Linked DNA regions of Homo sapiens: region 1 is linked to region 2. Evidence: promoter capture Hi-C in human tissues and cell types (Jung and others, 2019). All regions are on one chromosome and are shown on one strand. The core of a region is centred on a gene start or on the middle of the fragment in contact, and the rest is flanking DNA. Distances in the headings are between cores, read along the strand shown. Region 1 holds the start of LOC107985162 (a long non-coding RNA gene). Region 2 holds the start of ADNP2 (ADNP homeobox 2).

Region 1 (6,445 bases), core at 1,243-3,742, 630 kb after region 2:
TACCCGCCTCGTTTTACATTAGAAAATTGAATATCTGGGCCCTGGGCTGCAACACTTTTTTGAAGGGGTGGCAGGAGGCGGTGTCCGTGGAGGGTGGGGCTCTAACCGCTGTCTGGAGACTACAGAGCTGGAGTCATTTTCATCCAGGGCACGCGTCTTGCCTTAGGCCATGGCGCCCCCAGCTCTGCGGACGCAGCTGGGCCTCAGGAACTGCCCCTTCCTGCTGTTCCAGCTTGAAGCATGTGGTAAATCCAGAAATGATGAGTCCACGACAAAGCCAGACGATGGGGAGCCCCAGAGGCAGGGCTTGGCCAAGTGCTCTCTGTGAACTCAGGCCTGCGCCTTTGAGAGGTGCAGGGGTCACTGGAAACAGGCCCAGATGTGGGAGTGAGACGCCGGTGGGCACCCACATCTCTCCCGCTCAGAAGATGCTGGTGTCCCGAATGGCCAAGCCTCCATTCTAAATTAGGCTGGTAATTTTCAGAGTTTAGATCTTAAGCAAAAGCACATGGCTGGAAGGTTAAATTAATACCCTGTTGGGATCCTCTCTCCGCTGCTCGGGATTTTCAGCCAGGGCCCAGAAACATGGCCAGGCATGGGGGCCAGTGCGCCTCTTCTGTGAAGTGTCCCGAGCGCTTTAAAAACTCTCACCCACCAGCTCTGGCGGACACTAGAGGCCCCGTGCACAGCTGTCCTGTAAATCAGCCGCCCCACGGGCCAAGGCCGGCTATGCCCGAGAGCCGCTGGGGCTGGGGCAACCGGGTGGCGTCTGCTGCTGCTGGCTGGAGAACGTCAAGAACACGGCTCAGACACGGCCCCGTTTAAAACCGCGGTGGTACCGGCATTAACCCCCGCATCTCTCCAGCCACTTGGATTCTTCCTGGGGAAGTCCTGACCTAGGATGGTGGTGGCGAGGGGCACAGGGCTCTGGGACACGCGACCCACCTCCCCAGGATGCTGGCGGCCGGCAGTGGCATCGGGACGCACGGGCTGCTTGCCCTGCGGGTTCGGAGCAGGCCCAGCACTGATGCATCCACCACCCCCAGGGGCAAGCAGAAGGCCCAGTGGACGCTTCGCTGGGACCCCGCCAGGTTGGCAGCTCCTGTCCCCCCACCCACAGGCAGGCGCTCCCTCTCTTTCTGAAGCCTGGGGCTCCAGTCCACAGAGGCTGTGGCAACACGCTCCTCTCAGGAATAAACTCGTGTGCCTGCCCACTGCTTCTCTTCCGCCCAGAGCTATTTGCAGGGAGCTGGGGGCAGCTACTTGAAACCTGGGATCACCGCACGTGCCCCACCCACGACGGCATCTTGTGAGTCTGGAGAGCCAGTCCAGGTCCCTTGGCCCGGAGCTGGCAGCATGAGCTGCGACGTGGTCACCGTGCTTGGAAGGTGGCCTGGGCTGACCCTGCAGGTGCGGGCCCTGTTCCTGCCACAGTGCCCCTCCCTGGGCTGGGGTCTCCACGCGGCTTCTCCCAGCCTTGCCCATGAAGTCTGGCTCAAGTCTGGGGTTGGCCGGATGGTTTCTCAGCCCTGGCAGCGGCGTCTTGTGCCATCCCAGCTGCTCTGAGGCTGCCTCCCACCGGGACCGGGCCTTCCCCAGGCGACTGCCCCATCTCCCTGTCCTTGCCCTAAGGGGCACTGCCGCGAAGCACAGCCAGGGACAAAGGGCGGTGGACGGCAGGGATGCGCGAGGCACCCGGCACCCACAGGGGACGTTTCAGAATGGCCCCGCCTGACCCGCTGGCCTATGAGGATGCAGCGGGATGTTCTCTGCTAAGTCATGTCCTGGAGAGCTGCAGCCTTCCCAATACAGAGAGAAGCTGGAAAGTGCAAACTCACCTTCACAAGCAAAGGAAAGCCACACGGCTGCTTCCACACCCCAGCATCTAAGAAGCTTAAACACACGAACATACTGCACCTGGGCTTGGCCTAAACTGTGCTTTTTGTGTGGGTTTCAGAGAAGATGGATGCCTGCTCTGTAAATCAGAGCCTCGTAAGACGCATCCTATCAGTGAGAAAGTGAGTGAGCGTCTGCAAGAGCGCCTGGGAGTCTCACCCGTGGAGGGGGGCCGCACAGGCCCAGTTCACGCTGTCGCCCGTGGAGGGGGCCGCACAGGCCCAGTTCAAGCTGTTGCCCGTGTTCCGGGCTCACCCTGCACCAGGCGGCCTCTGGCTACCTCCTGATATCAGCCATGAGGGGCTGGGGTAGAGGTGGCGAAAGGATGGGCTCAGAAAAAGGGCAGCTCATTTTCAGGCTAAGCAACGGTGCAACAGAAACACCAATCACCTGAGGGTGAGTTTATGAAACTCGTTACAAAGAGCAGAGTGTGGAAGGCGAGTGCTGGCCTCAGGGCCGGCTGGCTTTACAAAGCATATTCCCACAGAGCAGGCTGGCTGCGGTGTCCATGGCAGTCCCGTTGTCCATGATGGCTGCCCCATCGTCCACGGCAGCCCCAGCGTCCATGGGGACTGTCTGTGGAGGCGGCGCGCAGTGGTCAGCGGCGTGCAGAGCTGACAGGTAAACCGTCCCCGCAGACCCAGGCCTCACGCTTGCATCCTCCGTGGAAGGCACGGAGGGCCCGTCCCATGCCTGGTGCTGTTCTGGGGCCCAGCTTCTCTCTGATGCCGCTGCAGAGTCTCTGCCTCGGTAGCAGTGACGTTGGGAGCTGAGTCCTGGAGGGGGGCTTCCGCCCCAGGTGAGCACGACGTTTCCAGGCCCCATGCAGGTGCCAATTCTGGCCACAGACGCAGGCAGTGAGCTGGGCAAGCCTCTCCTCCAGGACCTCCCCTCCCAAAGCCCCCGCCACGGCCATCGTCAGCCAAAGAGCATTCGGCACAATCCTGGCCTCTTAAAGAACCCCCAAGCCTGGAAAATGGGCTGCCATCCCTACCCGGTAACAGGAGCCAGGACATGAGTGGGCTTCACCCACCGCAGCCCCTCGAACGGTTCCTGTTCTAAAGCCCCAGCCGGGTCTATGCAGCCCCAGGGCAGGCAGAGCCCCTCACCCAGGGCAGACCTGGGGGCTCATCACAGCTCTTAATGGCCCGGACCACATCCTCCTCCCAACGTAGTCCCCTTGGCTGCCTTGGTGTGGCCTGGCTCCCGGGGGACAGCTGGGGTCTTCACGGCTCCCAGATCAGGGCCCCCTTCTGCTACAAGACAGAGGTGACAAGATCTGAGAATAAAAATCGGCATGAGCAACACGGTGGCAGGCACAAGCCTGCCCCACCTGTTGGCTTCCTGTGTGGTTGGTGCCCGGCAGCTCCTGGCTCCTCGGGGGCTCTGTCTGCAGCACAGGGAGCACCTGGGGGTGGGCGGGGGGGGGCCTGGGGGCAAGAACGGGGGCCTGGGGATGGGCAGGCAGGGGGGCAGGGGGCAGGCTCAGCCCTGTGGCTTTAGACAAGTGGGGTCACTGCTATGGACGGACTCGTGTCCCCTCAACCTCATGTTGAAGCCCTAACCCCCGTCCGCGTGACTCTACTTGAGAGTGGTGTTTGCAGGAGGTAACTGGGGGTTAAACAATGTCATCAGGGTGGGGCCCTGATCCAACGGGACTGCCGTCCCACAGGGAGGGAGAGACAAATCGCCTGTCCTGCCATGTGAGGATATGGCAGGATTTTGGCTGTCTGCAACTTGGAATGGTCCTCACCAGAACCCGACCGTACCAGTCCCAACCTCGGACTTCCAGCCCCCAGAGCTGTGAGAAATCAATGTCTGTTGTTTACAAGGTGCCCAGCCGGTGGTGCTCCACTATGGAAGCCCCAAAGACTGAGACAGTGCCCCGGACCCCCTTCTTCTGCCAACAGTACGGCCGGTGGTGCTCCACTATGGAAGCCCCGAAGACTGAGACAGTGCCCCGGACTCCCTTCTTCCACCAACAGTACGGCCGGTAGTGCTCCACCATGGAAGCCCCAAAGACTGAGACAGTGCCCCGGACCCCCTTCTTCCGCCAACAGTAACATCTGGTCCCCAGGTGGCATTGGGGGTGGGGAGATCTAACGCTGAGCTGCCTGCAGGCTGCAGCTGCTGTGCACAGCAAAGAATGATCCCAAGACAGTTCCCTGCTCCCCCATGCCCACATTTTTATGCAACCTTGTGTTCAGCTTGAATTACTCTACCAGGGATGCACTACAGTACTGGACAAAAGAGGTTTTGTTCAAAGTCTAAACCCCTGGAAAACAAAGATCAGATTGTCTTCTGTTTGCTGTATGACAAGAAAGTCCAAGTTTTGCCATCAACATAAACAACCAGGAATGACACCTCCGGGGCATGACTTTTCTCAAACAATGAAAGAAAACAGCGGATGAAGCTGCCTTATCACCCATCCCTCGAGGCTGAGAGGCATCATTTCTCCTTGTTCAGAGCCAAGATCAGTTTCCAGAGCAGGTGAGGGATCCACGGCCCACCATGGGGTAAATCTGCACCAACCAGGCACCGCCTGATGTGGGAGACAGAGAAGGGTCCTTCCGAACTCCATCCGCCTTTGGGAATTTGTGCTCTCTCACCGACTCTTCACTGGAGTTTCTGCTGAAGCGCGTTCCAAGGTTTCCAGGAAGGCATGATCTTCCGGAGTCACGACCACGTGAGTCTGGTGAGTATTCCAACCATGCACGCCACAGACCTCCAGGCTGAAACTGCAGCTCCGTGGAGGCTGACAACCGTGGCTAACCCTGGCCATGTGTCCAGGACGGGCCCAGATGCTTTTGTTCATGATCTCACTTTGCCCCCACACCCATCCTGTGTGTCGGTCGGGGTGAGAGAATTCCCTTTCCCTCAGGTTTATCACGTCGACCCCGAGCAACATCGGTGGGGGGCTTCCTACACATACAGAAGCGTGAAAACAGACGCAGAGCTCAGGTACTTGATGGGGGTCTCAGGTGGCAGCGACGGGGCCAGGACAGCACGGCAGCGAGGGGAAGCGCAAGTGGGGCCTCAGGCTGTGTGGTGGCCCCGTGCTGCTCCAGGGCACAGTGAGGTGGGATCTGTTGCCCAATTAGGCTGATGACAAAGGACGCTCCCACAGACCACACAAGCCAAAACACATCGGTCGGCTTTCGCCAATCCTCGCCCGCGCTGCCCGCCGTGTTCTGTGGGGCGCGTGACTCACGCTCCCAGGCAGCTGTGGAGCCAGGCTTTGCCATTCCGGCTGGAGCCACAGAGCCACGGTGGGGCAGCAGCATGGCCGACGCCGCCCGGAGGCGGCTGCACGTGGACAGGCGGATCCCTCCCAGGCGCGCGGCTGGCGTCGCCAAGCTCAGGGCGCCCCTCTTGCCCCACGCATGTCCCAGAGCGCAGGCTTCCTGGCACCCAGCCTCCCCACTGACTCACACCTCCTGGTTTGTTTTTGGTGGCCCGTGGCCCTTAGATTTCTCAACAAGCCCCTTCCCGCCCTCTCATCCCATCTCAGGCTCCCGGCCCCACCCCCCTTCTGGAGCCAGACTCGCCCAGCCCCAGGTGCGCCCGTCGGATGCTGAGCCCTGTGGCTCTTTCACAGAAGTCTGGATCCTGACGCTGGTTCCCTAATTTACTCCCCTCATCTCTGATTTCTGCAGGAGCAATCTTCCACCCCAAATCCCTCCTGCTTTAAAACACGCTCTGAGGACACGCACGGCCTGAGCGTCGGGTGGCTAGGATGCCTGGCGTCTTGCTGGGGGTGGTTTTGGCGAGCACATCTCGGACCTCCCTTTCAATTGGAGCCCTTCTTCTGACTTTTGGGGAGGTCTCCTGGGAGGCCTGGTGGGGCCAGCACCCCACAGCATGTGAGAGAGAATTCCTTTCCCTCAGGTTTACAACGTTGACAGTGAGCGTGAGAACACGCTTCCCTCACAACGTCGACAGTGAGCATGAGAACACGCTTCCCTCGCAACGTCGACAGTGAGCGTGAGAACACACTTCACTCAGGTTTACAGTGTCGACGGTGAGCATGAGAACACGCTTCCATCGCAACGTCGACAGTGAGCGTGAAAACACCCTTCCCTCACAACGTTGACAGTGAGCGTGAGAACACGCTTCCCTCGGGTTTACAACGTCGACGGTGAGCGTGAGAACACGCTTCCCTCGCAACGTCGACAGTGAGCGTGAAAACACCCTTCCCTCACAACGTTGACAGTGAACGTGAGAACACGCTTCCCTCAGGTTTACAACGTTGACAGTGAGCGTGAGAACACGCTTCCCTCAGGTTTACAACGTCGACGGTGAGCGTGAGAACACACTTCCCTCAGGTTTACAACGTCGACGGTGAGCGTGAGAACACGCTTCCCTCAGGTTTACAACGTCGACAGTGAGTGTGAGAACATGCTTCCCTCAGGTTTACAATGTCGACAGTGAGCGTGAGAACACGCTTCCCTCACGTCGAGTGAGTGTGAGAACACACTTCCCTCAGGTTTACAACGTCGACAGTGAGCGTGAGAACACGCTTCCCTCAGGTTTACGTCGACAGCGAGCG
Region 2 (6,370 bases), core at 3,480-5,979:
CTTGAACTCCTGAGCTCAAGCAATCCTCCCCGTCAGCCTCTCAAAGTACGGGGATTACAGGCATGAACCACCATGCCCAGCTCTCTCATGATTTTTAAGGACAATTTCTGAGTAAGCAATTCTACTTCTACATTCCTCTCTTGTATCCACCACCCAAGGACAGGCTTAGTGATCCCTCCTAGGACTTAGTACCATAACCACATACCACTCCACTGCACTCGACTCACCATGTTGCAATTATCTACTTATATATCCATTTCTCCTATTGGGCTGAACTACTCCAGGGCAGAAATCATGTTATATTTGCTTGAGAGGGTCCCATCACAGAGCACAGTACGTAGCAAATGTTCATTAAATGAACAAAAGATATAAAATAAAACAGGATAAGAACCGTAAGATATGCAGAAAGTGCTAGGAGGTTCTAAAGAGGACATGGCTATGGAAAGCTGGTGCCCAAGACATACAAGGTGAATAAATTAGCATCAAAAAATTATTGAGGTAAAGAAGGAAAAGTCTGAATTTATTTGGCAAAAGTAAAACCAAAAAGGTGGACTGGAATCAAACTGGGAGAGGAGTGGGAGGCAGAAAGGGTTAACATATAATAGGGAGAAATTTTTGGTGGGTAACAAGCAAACACCAAGTTTTTGAGAAGCTGTTTTGAAGCGGATAAATTTCTTTTCAAAGTTATCTATGTGAAAAATGTATCCTGGTCTCAGCAAAAGGAGAGATTTAAGGATCATTAGCATTGTAGAACTGGGAGGATAAAAATTTAAAAATTTTCTTTATAAAATTTTAAGTTTAAAAATTTTCTTTAATAAAATGCACTGATTTGGGTTCTAGCCTTCAAAAGCTTACACTCTCACACAAGAGCTGCCATAACCTCATTATGCATTTCTAAACACTAAGCTCAAGGTCACTTTCTGGCCCAGTCCAGCTTCTTTGGTCAGAGCAAAACTCAACGAAAATTTTGTTAGCTGCTTTCCAGGGACTCTATCAGACTTGATTTCATTTCCTCCTTAAAGTTCCACTATCCTCTCTATCCTCTGGGGTTCTTCTCCAAAAGCTGGCTGACAAACAGTGTTGTCTAAAGTAGGGACCATCATCCATATGTATCTGAAACAGGGAAGCTAAATTTACTGCTTCCAAGAAAATCTCAACTCACACAGCCAGAGCTGATCTTATCACAGAGTTTTGAGAAGCCTGGGATACAAAGACTGGTGGACTTTTAAAAGCAGAGTGATTGGGGATTGGCTGATTCATGTAAGCATGGTTGTACATACATGAACCTCAGAAAGGGGTTACTAAAATGAGGCTCTCAGAGATTGGGCAGGGGTCTGTGGTTACTTGTTCAAGGCTTGGGACTAGGGCCAAGGAGTTGTCACTTTTTTATTTTTTTCCCTTGAATTTGAAAAATAGGAACTTTTTATTCTCAAATGAAAGTGCTTCCATTCCTTCATCGTTATTGTGGCCCTTCTAAACAAAACAAAACACAAGCACACAAATACCTTTTCATTTAAAAAAAGGAGGGGGAAAAGTTCCCCCCTCCTTTTTTTTTTTGTTTAGCAGTTTCCTAACTGCTTTAGGGAAACCAACAAAGGATAAAAAATAAAATGCAAGTAAATTACAGGTTTCATAACTGTTGCCAACCACTTTGGGGATGGGAAGCTGACTTTTACCCATAATTTATCCATTCTAAGCTACCACAATTTATTCATTCTTAGATCCATTCTTATAGCATAATTTATCAATCCTAAGATAAAATATTCCATGTAAAATGCCCAGTGGATGAATTAACTATGAAATAGTTCAATGTTTTCATATTTATAGATCCTCTATAGATACTGTTCTCCATAGAATCTTAGAGCTCAGTAAAATCTGTATTTTCACCATTAGAAAACAGCAGGCTAACCGGGGCGGCCAACTATTTCCACATCATGCACCAACCTATCAATTTCAATTCAAAATAAATCTCAATTCCTAATGTTTAGGGTAGGCATGGAACTACCATAAAATTCCACTGATATGCACAAGAAAATATTATTTCCCAAAAGGGTACATAAAGGACTTCTCTGGGGATTTTTTAGTATAATGATCTCGTAAGGATATTCTATTATAGAAAAAAAAATACATTCTAAAAGAAAATGTTGGCCGGGTGCAACGGCTCACACCTGTAATCCCAGCACTTTGGAAGGCTAAGGCGGGCAGATCACCTGAGGTCAGGAGTTGGAGACCAGCCTGACCAATATGGTGAAACCCTGTCTCTACTAAAAATTACCAAAAAATTGGCTGGGTCCTACTCGGGACGCTGAGGCAGGAGAATCGCTTGAACCCGGGAGACAGAGGTTGCAGTGAGCCGAGATCACACCACTGCACTCCAGCCTGGGCGACAGGGCAAAACTCCGTCTCAAAAAAAAAAAAAAAAAATGTCATTCAGGTAATACAGTAATAAACAATACTTTTTAAGCCACAGAACTTTTTTTTAGTTCCTGTGAAATCGCACAAAACGATGGTCACCAAAAAGGATTCTGGAGTTGTGTGCCCGGGTTTACATCAGCTCCACCATTTATGAGCTGTGTAATCTTCAGGAAATCACTTACTCTCTCCAGGCCTCAGCTGGCTCTTCTGTAAAACAGGGCGAGTATGACCTAATTCACAGAGTAGTTATGAGGATAAATGAGTTAATACATGCAAAACAGCACATAAGCACTGAGTTTGCTATTAATTAACTCCAAAAAACTAAATGAAATGTCCCAACTATTGGAATACAGGACTTTTTAAAAAGCAACTTTAAAAACACAGAATACTTGGATCATATATTCAGCAGATCTGGGTTCAAATCACTGGGAGATACCGGTTTCCACCTATGTAACACATTGCCCTAACAGGTCTAGGATAGCCAGAGGATGAAGGGCAGGGCAGAAACCAAGTTTGCAATATGCTATTGGTGAACTTATGAGGGCAATCATAAATTAACCAACAGCATATTGCAAACTTGGGTTCAAATTAAAAACGTGTCTCCCAAATCCCAGAATCTCTTCAGCTAAAAATCTTAGCATAGCTGTCATCTTCCCCCATAAACAGTGATCAACTCCTTTCAGACATGTCCTAACCCTCACTGTTCCTCCCCTCAACTAGAGGGCCGGTAGGACAACCTCTTGTCTCATCTTCACTCTTGTACTTCCTTTCTTAACACACATCTGTCACTTCATGTTTAAGGACGACGGGCTCAATGCTGTCTTCGCAGTGAAGTCCTAACTCCAACCGAAATTTAACCGAAATATTAATACACACTCATACATGGCCAACTCTCCAAGAACATCTTTAAATAAGTTACACATACATTACCGACTTCCAAATACAGCTGAACATGTACTTTACACAACTCTTTTTACATGTGGTCCTCTCTCCCACTAATGCTCCTCACCCCCAAAAATGGTACCCAGACTCCAAACCCCCTCTTTTGATAAAGGCTCTGCGTGGCAGATGCCCACAGTACTCTACAAACTGCTGCCCCACTTGCCAATCTGCATTGTCAGTTACCTGCTTACCAGTTTCTCCTCCCCCACCCCACTCCTCCACAGCCAGTATATTCCTCAAGATCCCAAGAGGCAGTGATTACCCGTGCAAATAGAGTAAGTTTTAAGCACGCAGGCAAGTCTTCTGTTCAAATAAACTACTTAAAATATCTAATTATTTCTCATTCTGCATCTGTACAGTATTTAAAAGGGCAGTTAAAATTAACATTCCAAAGTCAACTGTAGTAGAAATTTTGTAAACGGAATCTATTTCAATGCAACCAGCAACGGCAGATGAAAAGTAATGTTAAAGTCAACATCTGTATATCAATTATTGATATTCGCATCAAAAGCTCAACGATGAAGAAACAGGGCCCCGTTATCAGCTGTTCTTCAAACCTTTCTAGGGAAAAAAAAACCTGGGCAGATTTAGGTGTCACCGTCAGCTCCTGACCTACATCTGCCGTCACTCAAGGCTCCTCCAGAGAGAAGCTTCCAGGAGAACCCGGTCTCGGGGATGCGGCGGGCGGGCCAGCGGGCGGGGCGTTTCTGGAGTCCTTACAGGGGTCGCCACAGCTCCTTGCCCCCTCTCTTCTTCTCCATCCCCGTTCCCTCTCCCTCTACTCCTCGCTCCCTTCACCAGCCCCCCTCTCTCCCTCGGTCCCCGTCCTCGTCTTTCCCCTATTCCTACTCTCCCCTCAGGTCCCCATCCCCTTCTCCGCCCTCCCGGGGCGGCCCCCGCTCCCACGTGACCGGCGGCGGGCGGGGCGGGCCGCGGGCGCGTCGGGGGTCGACGGGCGCCGTTCGGGCCGCGAACCCGCGCCCTGAGAACGTCCCGGGATTCCCGAGGCGGCCACGGGCGGCGCGAGGGCAGGCGGCGGGCGTGGGTGTGGGCTGGGTACCGGCGGGGGCGGGGCTCGGAGGGGACCAGACTGGGGCGGGGGCCAGGACCGGGGCAGGGGGCGTCGCCGCGCGGGCCCGCGCCGGGCCGGGCCGTACCTACCGCTTGGCGCCCGAGGAGCACCGCGTCTCCGCTGCTGCCTCTCGCAGGGCTGCCGCGTCTTCCGCCGAGCGCAGCCGCGTCCCGTGGGGCCGCCTGCGCCCGCCCGCGCCTCCGCCCCGCGCGGCGGGACCCCCGCCTCAGCGCGCGCCCACCCCCAGCGCGACTGGTCCCCTCCTCCCGCGCAGCCAGAAAGAGAAAATGGCGCTCGATTGGCCTCAGGAAGTGACGTTGGCCCTCATTTGCATGTAGGCGCAGCCAGCCAATGAGAGCAGAGTGTGCTTGGGGGCCCCTGGCACTTCCCACAGGCCCCCCGGGGCCCCTGGCTAAAGATGGACTGGAGGCTCTGGGGTGGCAGTGGGGGGCCCCTGTTGGACCCCCTGACTCCCTTCTGTCCCAGGGAACTGCCCTGCCAGCTCCTTTCCACATCTGTGCAAACTCTCGTGAGAGTTTGAGTGGGCAATGACGTCACTAAAGGGGTGGGGAGAGTGTGTCATCAACCATGTGACTAATCACGTGGACTCACCACAGCTTTGACTTCATTTGCATGGAATGGGGTGGAGCTAGTGGCAGCTCCAGGAGTGGTGACCCCGCCCACATCTCAGAGCCAATGGGAGCCCAACTGTGATAATGCTGCCTTGCCATTGGAAGACAAAACTTTGGCTCCCAGAACTGGGACAAGTGTGCCATGATTGGCATATCCTGGTGAACCGACTAGCTGGGGTCTCCTGACTTCATCATTCCTGTGGGAAAGTGATCACACCTTCTCTTGAGAATTCTGATTTTTAGATCTACTACAAGTTGTGTGGGGAGAGGGTTAATTGCATACATTTGTATAAACTCTTAACCTAAAAGTTCATTTTTGCACAGGTGTTTATCAATTGTGTAGCAATAATAATTTATTCCACAAAATTAGTGGAAACATGGCGTAGGGCTTTCAAAATGGCTCTAGGTCTTCGTTCCGTGGAGTCCCCAGGCCTCTGGCGGACGCCCTCGTGCCCCAGAGCACGTGGGAGTAACCACGAGGGCAGCGCAGGCGCCTCCCCCAGTGCCCCTAACCTTAACCCTAATTCTGACCCTGCACCTGAACCTCACCTAGCACTAACCCTGACTCTGACCCTAACTCCCCTCCAGTGTTCCTTCCCCTGACCCTAACTCAGCCGCGCCCTCAGTGGCTGTTCCAGGCAGTTCCTTCTTGGCGAAGCCGTCTGCAGGACACGTGCCCCTTTCAGCACAAGGCCACGTCTCCTTCCAGAGCGCCGAGCCCCTGCAACCCGCCGCCAGCCTCCAGCCCTGAGGCCCACTCCAGCCACCGCGGGGCAGAGGCCGTGCCCAGGCTGGGCCTTCCGCCCACCGCCCTCTCCAGAGCCTCCTTGTCACCATCCGCTCGTCCATAATTTCAGCTTTTCCCTCTCAATGGGAGCCTTCTGCTCAGTTTAGCCCAGTGACTAAACACATAATAGGCACTAAATTAATGTCCATATTCGTTTTAAAACTGTGTTAAATGGTGGGCCGATATGACCTGACCAAAATTTGCTTTTTTCCTACATGAATACAAGTCATAATTGAAGTAGAGTTTGCCCTTTATGTTTGCTGACAAGTTAAGATTTTACTTTGAGTTACAGTGGTAAATGGGTGTGATGTCCCTATATATCTTCCTTGCAAAATTATGGGTGGGATGAAAAGTGTAGTTAAAGCCTGCAGTCTCCCATTGATCCTCTAGTGACCTCTCATTTTATCACATTTCTCAAAACAGCAGTCCCTGTGTCTGTCTCCTCAGCCCCCTGCACGCCTCTCGCCCCCACCCTCACCACTCTGCAGAAACGCCTTGGTCACCAGCGCCCTCCTAATTGCT

The links. Contacts are between HindIII fragments. The study calls those that stand out against the background at their distance.
Region 1: a fragment that was not itself captured here is called in contact with the fragment with the promoter of ADNP2 in region 2 in 2 of the 25 tissues and cell types used here (lymphoblastoid cells and mesendoderm cells).

What each region holds. Positions count from the first base shown.
Region 1 is chr18:79,474,998-79,481,442 of GRCh38, reverse strand. All of the region lies in intron 8 of NFATC1 (nuclear factor of activated T cells 1), which reads right to left. LOC107985162 (a long non-coding RNA gene) reads left to right here and starts at 97. Exons shown (of 2, transcript XR_001753518.2): 1 at 97-6,445. The HindIII fragment of the contact is 5,843 bases long and covers 1-5,413 here.
Region 2 is chr18:80,107,621-80,113,990 of GRCh38, reverse strand. ADNP2 (ADNP homeobox 2) reads right to left here and starts at 4,729. Exons shown (of 4, transcript NM_014913.4): 1 at 4,519-4,729. RefSeq lists silencers at 4,208-4,307, 4,508-4,667 and enhancers at 4,477-4,978, 5,805-6,306. The HindIII fragment of the contact is 8,526 bases long and covers 2,430-6,370 here.